4 separate regions of the Homo sapiens genome follow, and all the other regions are linked to region 3. The links are contacts of gene promoters, found by promoter capture Hi-C in blood cells and fetal thymus (Javierre and others, 2016). All regions are on one chromosome and are shown on one strand. Each heading gives the region's core, a stretch centred on a gene start or on the middle of the fragment in contact. The rest is flanking DNA. Distances are from core to core; before and after follow the strand shown. Region 1 overlaps SNX27 (sorting nexin 27). Region 2 overlaps SNX27 (sorting nexin 27). Region 3 holds the start of TUFT1 (tuftelin 1). Region 4 overlaps POGZ (pogo transposable element derived with ZNF domain).

Region 1 (2,871 bases), core at 131-2,630, 77 kb before region 3:
TGCTTGTCAATTAAGTCTCTTTGCTTATCTACAAGGTCATAAGAATTATTCCCAATGGGACTTACCTAGAAAAATAATTATCTTTGAGAGCATGGTAACAGGCCCTCATCTGAAAAAAACTGGTCAGTGGTGGATGGAAAAAGAACTGTTCTTCACAATAAGTTAAAAGACCCAGACAAATTGTTATGCTACTAATAAAATATATTTTCCTGGTTACAGCAATCTGTGGAAGTGATTTCTGAGGGGAAGGTAATGCTATTTTCAAATTTAGTTTTATTTGTTTGCAACCTCAACTACCTGTGAAATTAAAAGGAATTTAAAAATGATTGTTCTGCTGTCTTCACTGATAACCAACAGGGTAAAGATAGCAATAATAAAGGCAAAGAATGCCTGCTTTAGTCCCCTGTCTCTCATCCAATTTAACAATGGGTAATAGTGAGTAAATAAAGATATAAAATAGTTACATTTCACAATAGTAGAACCAAAGTTCAACCACTATCGACGTTTATATGAATGTAACTGAATTTTAAGCAGCCAGGTGCTCAAGCCTGCAATGCCAGCGGTTTAGGAGGCCAAAGTGGGCAGATCACTTGAGGCCAGGGGTTCAAGACCACACTGGGCAACATGGCAACCCCATCTCTACAAAAAAAAAAAAAAAGTACAAAAAAATTAGCCAGGTGTGGTAGTGCATGCCTGTAGTGCCAGCTACTCGGAAGGCTGAGGTGGGAGGATCACTTGAGCCCAGAATTCAAGTACAGCCTGGGCAACATAGTGAGACTCCTATCTCTTTAAAAAAAAAAAAAAAAAAAAAAACAGCTCTAAAAAGAGAAAATATTCAAGATCTAGAATCCAAAGATCTGGATTTAATTCTGGTTGCCATTCATTGGTACAACACTCAGTTTCCATTTCCTGTCTTATAAAATAGGGATAATACTCATATATTCATTTGGCAAGTATTTACTGAAGAATACTTTCCATGGGCCACCAGACATTTGGCTAGGGATACAACAAATACATAGTATTTGATGTAGTCCCTGCCCTTGATGAGCTTATAATCTTCCTATCTCACAGGACTGTGTGAAGATCAGATGTAAAAACACTACAGACTGACTGGGCGCAGTGGCTCATGCCTGTAATCCCAGCACTTTGGGAGGCCGAGGCGGGCTGATCACCTGAGGTGGGGAGTTTGAGACCAGCCTGGCCTGACCAACATGGAGAAACCCCGTCTCTACTAAAAATACAAAAATTAGATGGGCGTGGTGGCACATGCCTGTAATCCCAGCTGCTTGGGAAGCTGAGGCAGGGGAATTGCTTGAACCCGGGAGGCGGAGGTTGCAGTGAGCCGAGATCGCACCACTGCACTCCAGCCTGGGCAACAAGAGTGAAACGCTGTCTCTAAATAAATAAATAAATAAATAAATAAATAAAACTACAAACTATAACACACTATACACGCTGCAAAGCAGTAAAATGATTATTATAACTATTAATATTAACTTGTGCTACCTCTTAACCATCCATCTTTATTTCAAGAGCTTAGCAAGATCCAATAAATAAAGTATAGACGATCAGATAGAACAGTTAGTATTTAACTGATTTTCCACTTAGGTTGGAATTCGAGAGCCTAACAATTCACTATTTGTTGGTATAACCTTAGCTCATTACTCTCAATATAATCATGAAGATAAAATGAACTGAGAATCCAAGGCCTACAACCTACTGCATCACCCTGGGCATGTAACTGAGTATGTGGGTTGCATTACCCACACCTGGCAAAGGAGTAAAAAAATAAAGATTTCTAGGCCCTATGAAAGATCTACTGAATCATAACCCTTAAAAGGTGAGCCTGAGAATCTGTACTTTAGATAAGCACACCCAAGTGCTTCTCATGTACCCTAAAGCCTGAGAACCGCTGCCAAACAAATTTCCTTTGATCAATAACCATGATTTCATTATTTCAAACATTACCAAAATCTACCTAGAAAATATCAGTCAAATAGAATTCAGTTGCAATTGAGAAAGCGGCTTTTGAGACGGTACCTAGTCTGTGTTACATGACTCACACTTAACTCATAAAAATACTTCTTGTGGCACCAGCCTCTTTAATTCATTTTCAAACTCTCACATAAAATGAAGTTAAAAAACTGACTTTCAAAAAACAAATTGATATACACAGTTTTATTTTATCTTATGACTTTAATGAGGGAAAGTTGATGAGTCTATTATCTGGTGGCTATCAAAGAGGAAAGCATATATACTGACTAGCATAAATATATCATGATTTTGAATGCTTGCAAGCCAATCTTAGTGGTCCATGCTTAAACTAATCCTTCAAAAATACAGACAGTTTTATATCCATATCCACCACACACTAAAACCTTCCAGCAGCGTCTCTCGAGAAATCAATCAAGAGTCCTTGGAACTACTTTAACCTTAAGAAAATTAACCTGAAGTCAAATGTTACTTCACATACTATATAATTAGTGCAAAGACATATTTATTTTGGTTCTGTTTGTTGAAAGCATTCTTTACTCATTAGCCTCCAGGTACATACACATCAAAGGGAAAACACTCAGTATATGTTACACTGGGAAAAATTACAAGGTGGAAACCAGCTTTGCTAGTCAAAAAAACTTTCCATCTGCAGTAAAATTTAGAGCCCAGAGGGCTTGTTCATACTGCAGTACCAAGCCCTGTTAGAATCTAGACAGTTTTGAAAGGAGAAAAGGCAAACTGAACCATATGGGCTCCAATTTAGTTTCAGGACTAAAGATTAGGACAGAGCCTTGGTAAGCCGACTTTAAAAGAAACACAAAGAAACTGAAGCTCTTACTTGTGTCCAAGTTTGTATGCCCTTAAATTTCAAAGTTA
Region 2 (3,216 bases), core at 314-2,813, 100 kb before region 3:
GTTAAACCTAAAGAGTTACCATATGACCCAGCAGTTCCATTCCTAGGTATATATCCAAGAAAAATGAAAACACATATCTACACAAAAACGTGTACACAAATGCTCATAACAGCATTATTCATAATAGTCAAAAGTGGAAAGAACCCAGATGTCCATCAATTGAAGAATGGATAAATAAAAGTGGTATATCCATATAATGGAATGTTAAAATGAAGTACTGATGCATGCTACAACTTGAATAAGCCTCAAAAATATTATGCTGAGTGAAAGAAGCCAGTTACAAAAAAAACCATGATTCCATTTCTATGAAATGTCCAGAATACGCAAATCTATAAGACAGAGGATAGATTAGTGCTTTCCTAGAATTGGAGGGGATGGGAGGTTTGGAAAATGATGGCTACAAGGAATGAGATTCTTTTTGAGGTGATGAAAATGTTACAAATTTGTTTTATGCTTCAAAAGTGCTAACTTTGAGTCATAAGACATGTAAGAAGTTGAAATCAAGGTCACATCCTAAAAGTAGAGCAGACTGGATGTTGAGACCTTTTGGGAATTACCTAAAACCTTGGGAACTTGAGAAAAGGAATGAAATTACTAATTGTACTTTTATTTATCTATTTTTTTTTTGAGACGAAGTCTCACTTTGTTGCCCAAACTAGAGTGCAGTGGTGTGATCTGGGCTCACTGCAACCTCTGTGAACACACTAAAAACTAAATTGGCCAGGCGCAGTGGCTCAAGCCTGTAATCTCAGCACCTTGGGAGGCCAAGGCAGGCAGATTTCCTGAGGTCAGGAGTTCAAGACCAGCCTGACCAACATGGAGAAACCCTATCTCTATTAAAAATACAAAATTAGCCGAGCGTGCTGGCACATGCCTGTAATCACAACTACTCGGGAGGCTGAGGCAGGAGAATTGCTTGAACCCAGGAGGCAGACGTTGCGGTGAGCCGAGATTGCACTATTGCACTCTAGCCTGAGCAACAAGAGCGAAACTCTGTCTAAAAAATAAAAAAATAAAAAAAACCCTAAATTGTGCACTTTAGGTGAACGTATGGTATATAAATCATATCTTAATAAAGTTCTTATGGCTGGGTGCAGTGGCTCACACCTGTAATCTCAGCACTTTGGGAGGCCGAGGCAGGCGGATCATGAGGTCAGGAGTTCAAGACCAGCCTGGCCAACATGGTGAAACCCCATCTCTACTAAAAACACATAAATTAGCTGGACGCAGTGCTATGTGCCTGTAGTCCCAGCTGCTGGGGAGGCTGAGGCAGGAGAATTGCTTGAACCCGGGAGGCCGAGGTTGCAGTGAGCCGAGATCGCACCACTGCATTCCAGCCTGGGTGACAGAGGGAGACTCCGTCTCAAAATAAATAAATAAATAAATAAATAAATAAATAAATAAATAAATAAAAGGCCAGGCGTGGTTGCTCATGCCTGTAATCCCAGTACTTTGGGAGGCCGAGGCGGGCGGATCACTTGAGGTCAGGAGTTCCAGACCAGCCTGACCAACATGGAGAAACCCTGTCTCTACTAAAAATACAAAATTGGCCGGGTGTGGTGGCACATGCCTGTAATCCCAGCTACTCTAGGAGGCTGAGGCAGAAGAATCACTTGAACCCAGGAGGCAGAGGTTACAGTGAGCCAAGATCACGCCGTTGCACTCCAACCTGGGCAACAAGAGTGAAATTCCGTCTCAAAAAATAAAATAAAATAAAATAAAACAAAAATAAAAAATAGGCAGGGCGCGGTGGCTCACGCCTGTAGTCCCAGCACTTTGGGAGGCCGAGGCGGGTGGACCACAAGGTCAGGAGATCGAGACCATCCTGGCTAACACAGTGAAACCCCGTCTCTACTAAAAAATACAAAAAAATTAGCCGGACATGGTGGCAGACACTTGTAGTCCCAGCTACTCGGGAGACTGAGGCAGGAGAATGGCGTGAACCATGGAGGCGGAGCTTGCAGTGAGCCAAGATTGCGCCACTGCACTCCAGCCTGGGTGACAGAGCAAGACTCCATCTCAAAAAACTAATAATAAATAAATAAATAATAATAAAGTTCTTACAAAAAAAGATAGCTGAAACTATAAAACTGTAAGAAAACATAAAAGATTGGTGTCCTTGGGTTAGGTAGATTTCTTAGAACACAAAAAAGCATTATCCATAAATTTAAAAACTGATAAACGAGACTATATCAAAATTTAAAATTTCTGTTCCTTGAAAGATACTGTTTTAAAAAATGAAAAGGCAAGTCGCAAACTCAAATATTTACAAAACATCTAAGTCCCTTTTTTTTTTTCTTTTTTGAGATGTTGCCCAGGCTGGAGTGCAATGGCACAATCTCGGCTCACTGCAAGGTCAGCCTCCCGGGTTCAAGTGATTTTTCTGCCTCAGCCTCCCAAGTAGCTGGGATTACAGGCTCCTGCCACCACGCCCGGCTAATTTTTGTATTTTTAGTAGAGACGGGGTTTCACCATATTGGCCAGCCTGGTCTCGAGCTCCTGACCTCAAGTGATCCACCGACCTCAGGTGATCTGCCCACCTCAGCTTCCCAAAGTGCTGGGATTACAGGCATGAACCACTGCGCCTGGCTTATCTAAGTCCTTTTTCAAGCTACTGGAAAATATATCATATATATCTGATATATATATATCTCATATATATCTATATCTGATATATATATCTCATATATATCTATATCTGATATATATATATCTCATATATATCTATAGCTGATATATATATCTCATATATATCTATAGCTGATATATATATCTCATATATATCTATAGCTGATATATATATCATATATATCTATAGCTGATATATATATCTCATATATATCTATAGCTGACATATATATCTCATATATATCTATATCTTATATATCTCATATATATCAGATATATATAGCATATATATGATATATATGTATCTGATATATCTATCTGATATATATCATATGCTATATATATCATATATATGATATATATATCAGATATATATGATATATATATCTGATACATATGATATATATATGATACATATGATATATATATATATATATATATATATATATATCTGATAAAGGACTTGTAGAACCAGAATGTATAAAGAACCCCTACAATAAAATAATAAGACAACCCAATTTTTTAAACGGGCAAAAGAGTTAAACAGCTACTTCATCAATGAAGACACATGAATGCCCATTAAGCACA
Region 3 (2,893 bases), core at 340-2,839:
ACTGTACTGCAGCTCCGGCAACATAGCAAGACACTCGTCGCTTAAAAACAAAGAGCAGGGAGTAGGACTTGTGGCTGACACATAATGGATAGATTTCTTCCATCTCTTCAGAGTCTCATAGCTGGGGATGTGGCAGGCTACAGAAGAATGGGGTTTGGGCAACTGGGGTTGGCCAATAGCAACATCTGTATTTTAATGTGGCAAAAACACTCATAGCCCAGGCAGAAATGGAGAGGGGACTGGGAAAAGAACTAAATGACCATCTGTATTCTAAACCTGAAATGAGTTTGAAGAAGAGCCATAATCTAGCTGCAGTTGGGTTAGCTCTACCTCAAGAGCAGGATGAGGCAGGCAGAGAGTAAGGGAGTCAGATGTGGGAGGGGGGATGATACACAAGTTCCCCATCACCTTAGTTTTCATTTCACTCCCACCCACAATAGCTTGGAAATTGATGAAATAGTACACACCTAATCTGGGTTAAGTTCCCCAAAAGAGCCTAGAAACACTCAGCCACAAATTACCCTCCTCAGCCTCTGGAGAGGAAAAACCATATGGTCAGCTAGGGTGGGGAGAACTGGGACTGGGAGCCAGAGAAAGAGGAGAGAGGGGTAGACCAGCCTGCACTGGAGAACGCCCCCTTTCTCCGCAACCCTCTCCCCGTCCAGAAGCCTTCGCTTGGGTCACTTCCCTCCCCTTCTCGGCCCGGGTTCTGCATCCCCTTCCTCCACTATCCCAGGGCCTGGCGGCTGGAGACGGAAGCAAAACTAACACACCGTCCCAGGAAGCTATCGGCAGGCAGATAGAGGGAGGAAAACAAGAGAACTACAAGGGGGAAGAAGGAGAAATCCAAGACAAGAGGTGACCCCCGGGCGGAAAGCCCTATCCCTTAGCGAAAGGTAGAGTCCCTAGCCAATCTCGGAATAGTTTGAGTCCTACCGTCCCCTACTTGCCCCCCGCCCTCCAGTCCAAGCCCTGTAATTTACTCTACCATTTTTCTTGTTACTGATCATCCAAAGCACCATGATGAAATTCTTTGGAGGGCCTCGGAGGTCACCAGGACCCTCGACCCACGGGAAAGCCTAAGCCTCCTCGGCAGGACACAACGTCCAAAGGCGCTCAGGGACCCAGTCGCTTGAGCTCATTCTCTTATGACCCAATGTGGCTGCCCAAAAGACGCCTGAGACCCGCGGCCCAAGCACGGGCTCGCCGGCGCCGAGTCCCAGGCAGGAGCCGCAGTGTCCTACCAAAGGGCAGGGACGCCCCGAACCCTCCAGCCTCAAAGGAGTCTTCACCCCGCGACTCCCACTGCCCGTCGCAGGCAAAAGAATAAAAAGAGAGAAGCGCCGCGCAGGGCTGACCGCGCGAGCCGGGCACCAGGTGATGTCAGCCAACACGGCGCGGGGCACGGAAGGGGCGGACTTAGAAACCGGGAATACAAAACGGAGAAGACAGCGAGAGCGCTTTTTCTTACCGCCGCCTGGTCCTCTGGGTGCACGTCCACCAGGGTACACCAGTTCCGCGTCCCGTTCATCTTCCCTCGGGGTCGCAGCACACACGCCACTTGTCCACCCCGCTGTCTGGCTCCAACTGGGCGGGCGCGCGCGGAACCGCCCCCTTGTATAGGCCCATCAGGGGCGGGGCTGAAGATAGGCCGCGCCCCCAGTTCGCGGTTTCGCAGAGAACTAACGATAGGCGAGGAGGTGAGGTGGGCGGAGCCAATGGGTCTGGGACATGCCCCATCGGTGCTCGCATAGATTTACACAAAGGTGGGGCTTGGGAGCGACATGGGGCTGCTTTAACTGAACAGCTTTATCTGGAGTATGTGGTTGCACATTCTTCATTAATCTTGTCGCTTTCCATCTTTCCAAGATCAGTGTTGGTCAGAGGGAATCACCCTGCCTGCTCCTAGTGGATGAGGAGTTGGAACCTGCAAAAGCTTCCTTCCATACATGCTCCTCTCCCTATACGTAAGCCACCTGTAGGCTTTGTGGAGCTGAGTAAACCTTTCCTCCACCGCAGAAAGGCAGGCACCAAGGTCCAGCTCACTCAGACTGGCCTAAGCCAGTCTGGCAGGTGCACTTCCTTGGCAAGAGGCCCAGGAGGCCCAGTCAGCTTAGGCTCTGGGTGGGGCTTGTTTTGCAGAAGCTCTTTTACTGACGCTGCCCTTATATAGTTGGGAGAGGCGGGACACATTGCCTTAAAAGGAATTTGTGTTCGTGAGAAAGGATGAGCCTTGACTTTTCCAGTTGCATTTTCTCCCCAAGCCTAGGCTGGGATCTTGAGGGCCTAGAAGAGAGGGTTGGCCAAGCAGGACCCTGGAGCTTCGTCCCCGCCCAGCTGCTCTTGGCAGATGGCTTCTTCACTTGGCTGTGGTCCACAGAGACAGCAGACAGAATACTTTAGGAGGAGGTCTGACCCACTCCTGAAGGGATAGTACTCCTATACCTGGCAATAGGCTCTAGTGAAGGGCCAGCTCCCTCTTCAAGGCAACACTAGGGCAGGAACAGCAGAAATGTCCCTACCTCCCAGTTAGGGACTGGGTCCTATGTCAGTTAGGAATGAATGAGGATTTTTCTACCTGGGAAGTGAATGCTGGGGTTATCACTATGACCCAAGGGAATAAAACCCAGTTCTGGTCTGTTCTACTCTAACCCTCAAAAAGGCATTTACTGCTGGCCAGGCGCAGTGGCTTATGCCTGTAATCCCACCACTTTGGGAGGCCGAGGTGGGCGGATCACAAGGTCAGGAGTTTGAGACCAGCCTGACCAACACAGTGAAACGCCATCTCTACTAAAAATACAAAAATTAGCTGGGTGTGGAGGCACGCGCCTGTAATCCCAGCTACTCAGGAGGCTGAGGCAGGAGAATCGCTTGAACCCGGGAGGCAGAGGTT
Region 4 (2,904 bases), core at 68-2,567, 120 kb after region 3:
TTTAGAAGAGCTGTGTACTTTGGAATGTGATGGGATACATTTAAAGACCCTCAAATAGATCAGAACATATGTGATCTTACTTTCTTAGTGTGGTAGATTTTGAAACCACACAGGAGAACAGGTTTATAGATAATAAGGACTCAAACCATATTGGCCTCAGTTCATTTTTGTTAATTGTGTCATTGGATGAATCGGGAGCTCTTACTTCCATTTTTTAGCTTTTCATTTTTTGGTATTAGTCCAGATAAAAAGGTTGGAACTTCTTCTTTGCCAGGGAGCTCAGAGCCAAGTTATACTAATGATTAAGGGACCTAAGACAGGCAGGAGGGAGAAATACAAAGTATAGCGCTTGGGTGGCATATGTGGATATACTCTAGAAAAGGAGTAAAACTTGGAAACGCTAAAAAAAACTGAAGGGTGAAAGCTGAATGAGAATACCTGAAACCAAACCGTTAACAAGGAATGGTAGTGAAGTTAAGGAGTTAGCACATTCTAGCCCCCAGGATAACCAGAATGATCAGATGTCTTTCTTTATAGTACTGTTGCCCAGAAATGGTTGAATACCAGAAGAAAGGAAAGTCCCTGGATTCAGAACCCAGTGTCCCATCAGCAGCAAAGCCCCCATCCCCTGAGAAAACAGCTCCTGTTGCTTCCACACCCTCTTCTACACCTATTCCTGCTCTGTCACCGCCTACCAAAGTACCAGAACCAAATGAGAACGTGGGCGATGCCGTCCAGACCAAACTCATTATGCTTGTAGATGACTTCTACTATGGACGGGATGGTGGCAAAGTAGCCCAGCTCACAAATTTCCCTAAGGTCGCCACATCTTTCCGATGCCCACATTGTACCAAAAGGCTAAAAAACAATATTCGGTAAGTGTTTAAGAGCCTTGGAAGTTACCTTGAACAAGAGAAGACTTACATTTTCTTATATATTTTAAGTCTTTCTCTTTGGAGAATGGACCTAACTACTATGCAGTCTTGCTGGGGTTATCATTAAATCAATAACTAGGACTATAGAAGGAGATATTGTGGTAATAAACAAAAGGTAACTGGATCGAGTAAGGGAAAGCAGTATGTCTCCTTTCCCAGAACTCTCTTAGTTTCAAGAACTCATTATCTTTCTGGGCTCAGAAAAGGATATCCCAAACAGGAAGTCTGGGGAATGGAGGGGAGCAGATAATGTTTGTTCTGTGATTTTACCATTATATTTCTAAAAGGCTACCAATTTTTTATGTTTTCTGTACTTTCTCTTTGTGCTTTATTACAGATTCATGAACCATATGAAACACCACGTAGAACTCGATCAGCAGAACGGTGAGGTAGATGGTCACACTATCTGCCAGCACTGTTACCGCCAGTTTTCCACTCCCTTCCAGCTTCAGTGCCACTTGGAAAATGTTCATAGTCCCTATGAATCTACTAGTAAGTTTGGAAACTCTTAAACTCAAGGGGAATATACCTTGCTGTTCACTCATTGAATGGCGCTGGGGGGAGCCCATTATATTTATTTACATGTGGGTAACAGTGTAGAGGAAGTACTTTTCATATTTGTAGCCAGTTCTTTACTTCATTCACCTTGTTTTTTTTTACAAGCCTGACTTTTATTTTGTTCAAGCATGGATTGAGTTCAGTGTTAGATCCTGAATTGTTAGGGGCGTTGATTCAGAACCACTGTAGAAAAACAAATGTAATTAATTTATTTCTTAGGTCTCTTTATAGAAGGAACAGTCATCTATTTGCTCTTCCACTTTAGTTAAACCCTGATAGGTTTTATGTAGGCTAAAAGATAATATTGTGAAGTACTTTATCATTAAGACATTGCTTTCAATGAAATATAAGATGAGCTGGAGTGTTTTCTACACTGTATATTTTATACATGTAGGCTGGACATAAGCTCAAAGAAATTAAGTAGGATAAAAGATAATATGGCCGGGCACGGTGGCTCACGCCTGTAATCCCAACACTTTGGGAGGCCGAAGCAGGCAGATCACCTGAAGTCAGGAATTCGAGACCAGCCCGGCCAACATGGCGAAGCCCCATCTCTACTAAAAATGCAAAAATTAGCTGGGTGTGGTGGCGGGCACCTGTAATCCCAGCTACTCGGGAGGCTGAGACAGGAGAATCGCTTGAACCCGGGAGGCGGAGGTTGCAGTGAGCTGAGATCATGCCATTGCACTCCAGTCTGGGCAACAAGAGCAAAACTCCATCTCCAAAAAAAAAAAGATAATATTATGAAGTACTTTATCATTAAGACAGTGCTTTCAGTGAAATATAAGGTAAGCTGGAATGTTTTTCTACACTGTACATTTTATAGATAGATGTAGGCTGAACATAAGCTCAAAGAAATTGAGTCATTTGCTTATGAGCGTACACCTCTAAATACACCTCTACTGGGGATACATAGTGAGGATTTAAGCCCAGTATTGAGAATACTTCTCATGTCCTTTACGGGATTTCCAGTTTTGTTGTAAAGACAAAAATTATGTAAATATAGGAAAATGTGAGAACAAGATAGTATATTATAAACATAGACATTTTAAGATATCATTGATAGGTGAAATACTTCAGAGAAGGGAAAAAATCCTTGTGGCTAGGTTTCCAAGAAAGTCGTGCTTAAATTTAAGAAAGGTTTAGATGGATGGAGAGTAGTAAGAAAAGCTTTTAGGTGATTGAAAACAGCATGATCAAAAGCATAGAAGACATATGCATATTATCTGGATGCATTTGCTACAAGTAAAAATCCTTAACTAAAAATGAATTAAACAATAAGGACTGGGTGTGGTGGCTCACACCTGTAATCCCAGCACTTTGGGAGGCTTAGGTGGGTGGATCAGTTGAGGCCAGGGGAGACCAGTCTGGCCAACATGGCAAAACCACATCTCTACTAAAAATACAAAAA

Evidence for each region. The method cuts DNA at HindIII sites, captures the fragments that hold promoters and counts their contacts. A CHiCAGO score of 5 or more calls a contact.
Region 1: a contact is called between a fragment that was not itself captured here and the fragment with the promoter of TUFT1 in region 3, in 2 of 17 cell types (M2 macrophages and erythroblasts). The highest score is 6.3, in M2 macrophages.
Region 2: a contact is called between a fragment that was not itself captured here and the fragment with the promoter of TUFT1 in region 3, in 1 of 17 cell types (M2 macrophages). The highest score is 6.0, in M2 macrophages.
Region 4: a fragment that was not itself captured here is called in contact with the fragment with the promoter of TUFT1 in region 3 in 1 of 17 cell types (erythroblasts); the score reaches 5.1 in erythroblasts.

Annotation. Positions count from the first base shown.
Region 1 is chr1:151,615,821-151,618,691 of GRCh38, reverse strand. The region is part of intron 1 of SNX27 (sorting nexin 27); the gene reads right to left. Among named protein-coding and RNA genes, the nearest start is that of SNX27, 5.2 kb to the right of the region's middle. RefSeq lists an enhancer at 1-70. The HindIII fragment of the contact is 3,445 bases long and covers 1-2,871 here.
Region 2 is chr1:151,641,462-151,644,677 of GRCh38, reverse strand. The region is part of intron 2 of SNX27 (sorting nexin 27); the gene reads right to left. Among named protein-coding and RNA genes, the nearest start is that of SNX27, 31 kb to the right of the region's middle. The HindIII fragment of the contact is 6,315 bases long and covers 1-3,216 here.
Region 3 is chr1:151,539,005-151,541,897 of GRCh38, reverse strand. TUFT1 (tuftelin 1) reads right to left here and starts at 1,589. Exons shown (of 13, transcript NM_020127.3): 1 at 1,472-1,589. The coding sequence starts at 1,531. RefSeq lists enhancers at 782-1,296, 1,297-1,812, 2,328-2,844. The HindIII fragment of the contact is 3,648 bases long and covers 1-1,938 here.
Region 4 is chr1:151,421,920-151,424,823 of GRCh38, reverse strand. POGZ (pogo transposable element derived with ZNF domain) reads left to right here. Exons shown (of 19, transcript NM_015100.4): 9 at 538-875; 10 at 1,273-1,427. Among named protein-coding and RNA genes, the nearest start is that of PSMB4, 24 kb to the right of the region's middle. The HindIII fragment of the contact is 2,697 bases long and covers 1-2,665 here.